Regions from separate parts of the Homo sapiens genome. Here region 2 is linked to region 1. Evidence: promoter capture Hi-C in 16 types of primary human blood cells and fetal thymus (Javierre and others, 2016). All regions are on one chromosome and are shown on one strand. Each heading gives the region's core, a stretch centred on a gene start or on the middle of the fragment in contact. The rest is flanking DNA. Distances are from core to core; before and after follow the strand shown. Region 1 holds the start of CARINH (colitis associated IRF1 antisense regulator of intestinal homeostasis). Region 2 overlaps AFF4 (ALF transcription elongation factor 4).

Region 1 (4,296 bases), core at 743-3,242:
GATTTTGAAATGTTAAATATGGACTGTACAAATAAAGAAAAATACAGGATAGTTTCACTTATAAACATAGATGTTAAACTCCTAAATAAAATATTATCTAATCAAATACGAAAGTGTATTACAAATACATCATGATAAAGTAATTCACCACATTAGTCGATTGTGGAAGAGGTTACTAGTGCTCACCAGTCTCTCGTTCTTTTCCTCCTGGGAACACCACCAGGCTACATTTCCCAGCCACCTTACAATTAGGTGAGACCCATGAGACTAGTCCATGCCAATGGAATGTGAATGGAAGTGCATCTAATTTTCTGGCTCATGAAAACAGCAGCATTTTCTCTATTTTCTTTTTTTCTTTCTTTGTTTTTTTTAGACGGAGTTTAGCTCTTGTTGCCGAGGCTGGAGTGCAGTGGCGCGATCTTGGCTCACTGCAACCTCCGCCTCCCGGGTTCAAGCAATTCTCCTACCTCAGCCTCCCAAGTAGCTGGGATTACAGGCATGTGCCACAATGCCTGGCTAATTTTGTATTTTTAGTAGAGACGGGGTTTCTCCATGTTTGTCAGGCTGGTCTCAAACTCCCGACCTCAGGTAATCAGCCCGCCTCGGCCTCCTGAAGTGCTGGGATTACAGGCGTGAGCCACCGTGCCCGGCAAGAGCAGCATTTTCTAAAAGCAATCAGTACTCAACACCATCCTGCTGAGGTAGGGCAGCGGCGGACTCCATGTTTTGAAACTTAGGAACTTAGACCATCTTTTGTCAAATTCAGATGGTTTTCTCAAAGTAAAGATCATTCAAGTTTTGTTTCAGTAATGGGCCGTATGATCAGATCTGTGTGATTAGGCTGAATTCATTATTATTGAGACAAAAATTGAGTTAAAGGGGATTCTTGGTATTGGCCTGCAAAACCTGTCATAACTTAAATGTAAAGTTTCTGATGATTTAGTCACTTTACTCTCAGCTCTTAGCTCTTTCACTCACCTGTCCTTGTTCTACACAACCTGCCTGATGGGTAACTTGAATACATATTTTCTCTCTTCAGGGGATGGGAACGCCCTAAGGGCAGGGGCTGTTTCCACAGCCCTGGGGTGGAACCCCCTTCCTGCATACCAAGAATGAGTTGGCTATACTTGACGAAGGGCAAAGACAAGGTGGCACGCATCTTTCATGCTTCTGCTGGCAGATGCAGTGGACTGGAAATTTCCTGGTCTGGGAAGGACTCGGTCTGTGAGTGCACCTATCCCTGACATCTATGCTAGCCCCGGGATGGGGGCCCCAGCAGAGTAAGGCCCTGACTTCACATGGACAGGGCCAGGGCAAGGGGGCCACATCCTGGCCTAGTTGCTCTCCATGCCCGTGATCAAGGGAGATGAGCTGCCAGCTTGCTCGGTCAAGGAACACTTGGAAGGCACTCCAAGTGCCCCCAGGTGCACCAGATCTAGGAAACTTAAGCAAACTACATGAGGTATGGGGTGGGGCCCAGTGGGAAAAATGAGTCTGACAGGTCAGAGGGAGTAGATTATGAGCTCAGGTTAGGCATTCTGTTCAGCATTTTACGTACACCCTCCCACTTTTGATTTTTACCAACACCCAGGGAGGTCGGTGCTCTACAAAAGGGAAAGGCGTGCTCAGGTGGCCCGACTTGCCACGGTTCCAGCTCGACCCCGGGCTGCTAGCCCCTTGGCACGCTTGTCTGAGGCCTCCCAGGTCTTCCAGCCTGGCCTGGAGGCTCAAAGCCACGAAACCCAAGGGTGCCGCTTCTCAGGCCCTCCCCGCCCCCACGGCAGAACCCCTGACCCTGCCCGGGTCAAACGCCTGGCGTCGGGCCCGCCGGGTCCGCAAGGAGGAGCCCGCGAGGCGGCCGCGAAGGGGCTGTGCTTACCTCGCCCGGCGCGGGTTGCGGCCCCAGGGCCCGCGCTCCAGGCTGGCGGCCGCTGCATTCTGCGCCCCTCGCCTGAAACGGCAGCTGCGCCAGTCCTGGCCACGACCGCTTTCATTTTCCTCAACGACATCGGCAGGAAAGCGAAAGCGAAACCCTCCGGGAGGCGGGACCGGGGCCGAGCGCGCAGTGAACGCGGGGCGCGCGGCGGGCGCGGGCCGGCAGCCAGAGGCGGGGGCCCCGGGCTCGGGTCTGCGCGTGGCCTGGCCCGGTGGCGTTCGGGGTGGAGCTGGGCCAGCCGAGTGCCCGAGAGCTAGTCCGCCACGCACACCTGCCTCGGCGGGACCCGGGCCCGGGCTGGGCGGGAGGCTGGGCAGGCCCGCCGTAAGTGGAAAGGCGCCCGCGGCGCTTCGGCCGACCGGGACAGGTTCCTCCATCTGCCCTTCATTCAGCGTTTACTTGGGCCTGTGGCTGGCAGCCGGCCCGGGACCTGACCGCTGGCGGCGCCTCGGGCTCTGGCCTGAGGAGGCAGATGGCAGCCTGAGCAACTGGGACCAAGCCTCTGAGGAGTCCCCGTTGGAGGGGACTTGACCATGAGGTACCAGGCATCTCATCTGGGGTCAGCGGAGAACCCAAAAGTCAATGACGTCGGTGAAATGGGGGTCCCTTCATCCGATAAGAGAAACTGGAACAGCAAGCCTATGGTTTGGACTCCCTGGTCTAAGCGGTGCCCATCAATATCTAAACATTTAGAGATTCCAGGTTTCAGTGTCTGGCCGTCTCTTACTGTCAGTGATTTGGGGCAAAATATTCAAGTAGTTAGACTTAATTACTTCCCCTGTGGGATGGGAATAATAATAATCATACCTACTGCCAGAATTTTAGGAATGAACAATAGAAGGAAGAAAATACTTAAAATTTTCTGACAGCCTCTAAGTGGGTTCCTTGAGGGCAGCAACCAAGTCATTTACCTGGATGCTTGATAGACATTCTCTAATGGCCAGTCCATCAACTTGGAGCTATCTCCATGATAACAGGTTAGTTGTCAAAGTTTGGACAATATTATCTGGAGTTTAAAGACTGAGGAAGCCCTGCAATTTTTTTTGGAAGGTGTCTGAAACTTAGCCTGACAATTAGCCCCCACAATTATGCCACGGAACCAGGTTTTTGTTAGAGTGGAGCATGGCCACAACGTTTGATGGACATTCCTACAGCGGTGTTCAGCGCTGGCCACTGAGGTCTGAAAATACTTTTGCAAGCATTTCTATTCACTTGCTTTTAGAAAACATTGGTAAGACACCATACTCCAAACACAGTTTGCCCTGTCTGTACGTTTGTTGCAAAGCAAACATAAAAGTTTTTGCCATAGAGCAAACACAGAGCAGTCTGTTATAACTGGAACAAGAAACCAAAATGAGCTATTAAATCTGCCCAGAGTCACTTTGGTTTACCTGTTTGTAATTTGGGCACATTCCCTGCAAGATGGAGGCCCTGGTCTGTGACTGATGTAGGGGCTTGTATGTGTCCTTGCAATAGTTCCCTCAAGAGCAGGTGGGAAAGTGGGGCAGGCCAAATGATGACCTTAGAAAAACAACAGCCTGTTTCTCTGTCCAGAAGATGCTACTTTTAGTCTGTAGTATGAAGGAAAAAGAAAAAACAAAAAAGGCAAGCCTTGGAGCCTCTTCCTCCTTATAGGACAATTCTTGACTCCAAGATAGCAAAGTAGAGTTAAATCTGCTTCTGCATAAAAACTATGTTTGGGAAGATGAAGATCAGGAAAAGACAGGAAGAGATGTAAGCAGATAAGCCAAATCCTGGTTACCTTTTATAGACATCACACATGTGAACAGAGAGCATCAGGAGGTCAAGGCCGGCCTGATGTTTTTCATCTTGGCAACTTCCCAAGGTCCAGGTTTGGTCCTTGACTTTGTGGGGCCAAAAATCTCATCTGACTTCCAGTGTACCAGAGTCGATTAGCACTGTTGCATAAAGTCAGAATGACAACTGACTGATTTCATTCACTATTTGCTAGAGAAGTGCTATGCTAAATGCATTACATGCATTATTACCTCATTATTTCTCCCTACTATCATGTGGTATATTATAATCTATTTATTTTTCATTTGGGAGAAAAAAAGATGAAGGAAATCCCAAGGTCACATAGTTACTATGTATGTTAGTGGCAGGGTTTGAATCAAGGCCATCTGACCCCAAAACCTGAAGCTTATCCATTCCTGTTAGAAGCAAGACTGTCGGGAACACTGGACTCGAGGCCACCTGATGAACACATTCTCTTCTTGTAGCCATGCAGTTTGGAGCCCCATAGTCAGAAGGTGGCTTAGTGAGCCTAAAATCAGAATCGGAAGAGTGAATTGTCTGACTTAAATGTTTGATGATATCAGGCTCGGGCAATGTGGGAT
Region 2 (4,301 bases), core at 733-3,232, 550 kb before region 1:
CTCGCCCTTGGCAGCCTGTCACCGCCCCCTGGGCGGGCTCGAATGCGCGTCCGGTGAAGGTGCAGGCCCGGCGCCGCCACTGCCGCAGCCAGGAGATGGTTCGGGCCTAGCGGAGCCGGGACTGGAGGTAAGAAGGGCCGACAGACTGACCCAGGGCCGGGCCGGGCCGCGGGGGTTGTGGCCGGGGCCGGGTGGGGGTGGGGGCCCGCAAGTTCTGCGGGGAGCCTCGGGGAGACCCTCCGGGCTGGGGCTGCTCAATCAGGCGTCACCCCTCCTCTCATCTGCGCGTCCCACCCCACCACCTTCCCGCAAAGATAAGAAAATAAAAAAAGCTAACCCAATCCTAACAAAAATTCCCAGAAATCCATCCGTTTAGTGTTTCTCCTTTCCTCTTTCTTTCCTCAGACGTTCCATCGGCTGATTTGTTACTTTTTCATATCCTCCTCAATTTCAAATTATGTCTAATTAAAGAGAAAATAGGCCCAGATTCTGGCTAACATTACCCAGCTAGTTCTCGCTTTCCTTCTCGCGATCCTGCGCACCTCTCCCACACCCCCACCCCCGCAAAAAAAAAAAAAAAAGAAGGAAAAATTTCCGCCTTCGACTTGCGAAGGGGATTGACTAAAAATGGGAACGTGGGGGTATAATACTCGAATACCCTCCCCTACAACTTCTGAATCGGTCTGTTACCTAGTTATCCCAGTAGCTTGTGCGTGGATATTGATGTTTAGGCCTTTCCTCCAGCTGCCTGTGCTTGGGGTTAATCTCGTAATTGACGTCAGTGCTTTGTTCCTTCTACTTTGCTGTTCCTTCCACTCTTTGAGGATGGATCATGGAGTACAGGAGTTTTGGGAGTAACCTTATTGCCTTTTCGTTTACAAACAGTATTATTTTCAGGAAGTGGAAGTACGAATCTGAAATGTTTGTATATGGAGTTCAAGGCGAAGAGTTCGATTTAGGGTTCTCGTAGTTTTGTCAGTTGTAATTCAGAATTATGCGGTTTCTTCCCTGCTGGCCACATGGAAATTTTATACTAAGGCCAGTCACTTTTCCATTGACCAGTGTTTTTCTTGATGGAATCTAAGCTATAGGTGTCTGTGAATAGACTGTAAATGTAACATAAAATGTGTGCTGTTTTTCGGGCTCAGATATGAAAAGCGCAAAGCTTCGTTTCTGTATTGATTCTGCACTTCATAAAGTGCTTTTTAAAACTTAACTGGTCTTTAACTTATCAAAATTGAAATATTTATGAGAACTTTCTTAATTTGGGATTTGATAAAGAGCCTTTGTGGTCTGTGAGTCTGCCTAGAATCATCTTTGGTCATACGTGCATAAAGAAGTGTTGGCAAGTGGCCACTTGGTTTTCAACAAAGCTGGCTTCTTTAAATTTCTCAGATTCGTTTTCCTTATTATCACTGCATCTTTCAGCTCCTAAATATAAGAAAAATTCCCAGTAAGTTATTTTAAGTTATCTTTCAGAGTTAACTTACTAAAAACCTGGAAGCAGTCAAATTTTTCTTTTTTTATTACCAGCAGTTTCATTCAATTTGCGGTGGTTTGCAGGCTGGTACTTTGATTTTTGTTAACTCTCTAGAAACAGTAGGCAAATTTTACTTTAAATAAAATTTTGCTTCAAGTGGGGACAAGATGGGGTGTCTGAAAAAAGAGCCCAGCTGTGTTAATTGGAACATGATCTACAGTTTGGGAGTGTAAGGTGAAGCTGTGTAATTAAGAATTCTTAAAGATTGAATATTTTTGTTCTGAGTCACTTTCTACTTGTCAGATTCTCACATTCAGGTTGATACATTCTCTTCTGTGTACTCTTGAGTTATTGTACCCTTTTTGTAGCAATATATTCTGCAGCCGGGCCTGGTGGTTCACGCCTGTAATCCTAGCACTTTAGCACTTTGAGAGGCCGAGGTGGGCGGATCACCTGAGGTCAGGAGTTCTAGACCATCCTGGCCAACATAATGAAACCCCGTCTCTACTAAAAATACAAGAATTAGCCAGGTGTGGTGGTGCACACCTGTAGTTCTAGCTACTTGAGAGGCTGAGGCATGAGAACCAAATTAGCCAGACATGGTGGTACATGCCTGTAGTCCCAGCTACTCCAGAGGCTGAGGCACGAGAATCGCTTGAGAATCGCTTGAACTGGGAGGCGAAGGTTGCAGTAAGCCGAGATCACACCACTGGAATGCAGTGGCTCCATCTCTGCTCACTGCAACCTCTGCCTCCTGGGTTCAAGCGATTCTCCTGCCTCAGCCTCCTGAGTAGTTGGGATTGCAGGTACACACTACCATTCCCAGTTAATGTTTTTTGTATTTTTAGTAGAGACGGGGTTTCAGCAGGTTGGTCAGACTGGTCTCGAACTCCTGACCTCGTGATCCACACGCCTCGGCCTCCCCAAAGTGTTGGGATTACAGGCATGAGCACTGCGCCCGGCCAACCTAGGCGATGTCTCAAACAAGCAGAAGCCTACTATATGTTTTGCACTGTAATTTTCTTTTTTTCCCTGTCTCTTGCAGATATTGAGGGATGCATAATAATTTTCTTACAGATCTGTTACAGGGTCTTTGAGGAAGTACTATATTTATTCCTCTTTTTATCTTCCTCAGTATTTTACACAATTACTAGATTGAATTTGAATGTGATAATATTTTGAACTTGAAATTGTTGTTCTATCAACTTATCTAAGATTTCACAAAAAGGTAATGTAAAGAAAGCTGTATGAGCAAAGGATCAGTATTTGAAAGGGAAAAACCTGTCAGTTTCAGAAGATGAGACAGAAGATGAAGCTTTCTAAAAGTTATATATTTTGCCTTTTTTGAGAAGGTAAGGTAAATGCCGTAGTTTTATGTGTACCTGAGAGGAACAAATAAAACAGGTATTTCTTCCTTTGTGGCCATCCACTGGTTTAGAATGGAGTTCAAAATCTATGAGGACTTTTCTTTGTGGTATTTTTAATAAAATCAAAGAGGTATTCTTAAGTATTGAGAGCACACCTGGACAATGACCCAGAAGTACAGCATGTACTATAAAAAATTGATGACTTAGATTTTTTTTTACTTTAGCTTTATTCTACAGATATCTCACTATGAAGACTTTTCTATATGATATAAAGGTTCCCAGCTCTCCTGCATCCTTATTATGTTTTACCCATTCCCTTATTCATTTCCTCTGATAAGTTGGAACAATTCTATTTGATTTCTGGGAGGGTGTTAGCTAGTCTCAGTTATTGTGAAAGAAGGTGTAGTGACTAAAGACTGCCTAAAGCTAACCTGACCTGTTACCTTGCTGCTTTTTCCTTTGGTTTAAGAAAAGCGCTCCTACTGGCCAGGCGCAGTGGCTTATGCCTGTAATCCCAGCACTTTGGGAGGCTGAGGCTGGCGGATCACGAGGTCAGGAGATCGAGACCATCCTGGCTAACACGTCTCTACTAAAAGAATACAAAAAATTAGCTGGGTGTGGTGGCAGGCGCCTGTAGTCCCAGCTACTTGGGAGGCTGAGGCAGCAGAATGGCGTGAACCCAGGAGGCGGAGCTTGCAGTGAGTCGAGATCGCACCACTGCACTCCAGCCTGGGCAACAGAGCGAGACTCCGTCTCAAAAAAAAAAAAAAAAAAAAAAAAAGAAAAGCACTCCTACTTGTTGTTAACTCCCTATACATACCCTTCTTGGTTATTTGAAGTGATACTCTAGTACACGGAAGAGGGCAGTAATATATGTTCCAGTTACTGAGTTTTGGCACATCATCTGCATTCCTGTTTGTCTTGATGTTCATTTTCGCTGGTATCATATCTTGAAAGTTTTAACGATACTGGGGCACAGAAAATATTAGAACCTCCAAATTCAATTCCAGAGTATTCCAAAACATTTTAATACTAGAACTACCTATTCTATTTTTGAAGAAAAAAAATCTTAGCTACCTGCTTTATCAGCTATTCTTTATTTAAAAAAATCTGTAACCTTGCCGGGCCCGGTGGCTCATGCCTGTAATCCCAGCACTTTGGGAGGCCAAGGTGGGCGGATCACGAGGTCGAGAGATCAAGACAATCCTGGACAATATGGTGAAACCCCGTCTTTACTAAAAATACAAAAATTAGCTGGGCATGGTGGCGCCTGTAGTCCCAGCTACTTGGGAGGCTGAGGCAGGAGAATCGCTTGAACCTGGGAGGCGGAGGTTGCAGTGAGCTGAGATCGCACCACTGCACTCCAGCCTGGCAACACAGCAAGACTCTATCTCAAAAAAAAAAAAAAAAATCTGTAACCTGAGGAATGTTCTGACAGAAGGCATTTTATGTAA

The links. Contacts are between HindIII fragments. The CHiCAGO score rates a contact against its expected background, and 5 or more counts as called.
Region 2: a fragment that was not itself captured here is called in contact with the fragment with the promoter of CARINH in region 1 in 1 of 17 cell types (fetal thymus); the score reaches 7.1 in fetal thymus.

Annotation. Positions count from the first base shown.
Region 1 is chr5:132,408,625-132,412,920 of GRCh38, reverse strand. CARINH (colitis associated IRF1 antisense regulator of intestinal homeostasis) reads right to left here and starts at 1,992. Exons shown (of 4, transcript NR_161242.1): 1 at 1,880-1,992. RefSeq lists silencers at 1,694-1,983, 2,054-2,353 and an enhancer at 2,594-2,643. The HindIII fragment of the contact is 5,230 bases long and covers 1-4,101 here.
Region 2 is chr5:132,959,085-132,963,385 of GRCh38, reverse strand. It overlaps AFF4 (ALF transcription elongation factor 4), which reads left to right. Exons shown (of 21, transcript NM_014423.4): 1 at 1-127. Among named protein-coding and RNA genes, the nearest start is that of AFF4, 2.4 kb to the left of the region's middle. RefSeq lists a silencer at 1-297 and an enhancer at 2,224-2,725. The HindIII fragment of the contact is 1,630 bases long and covers 1,168-2,797 here.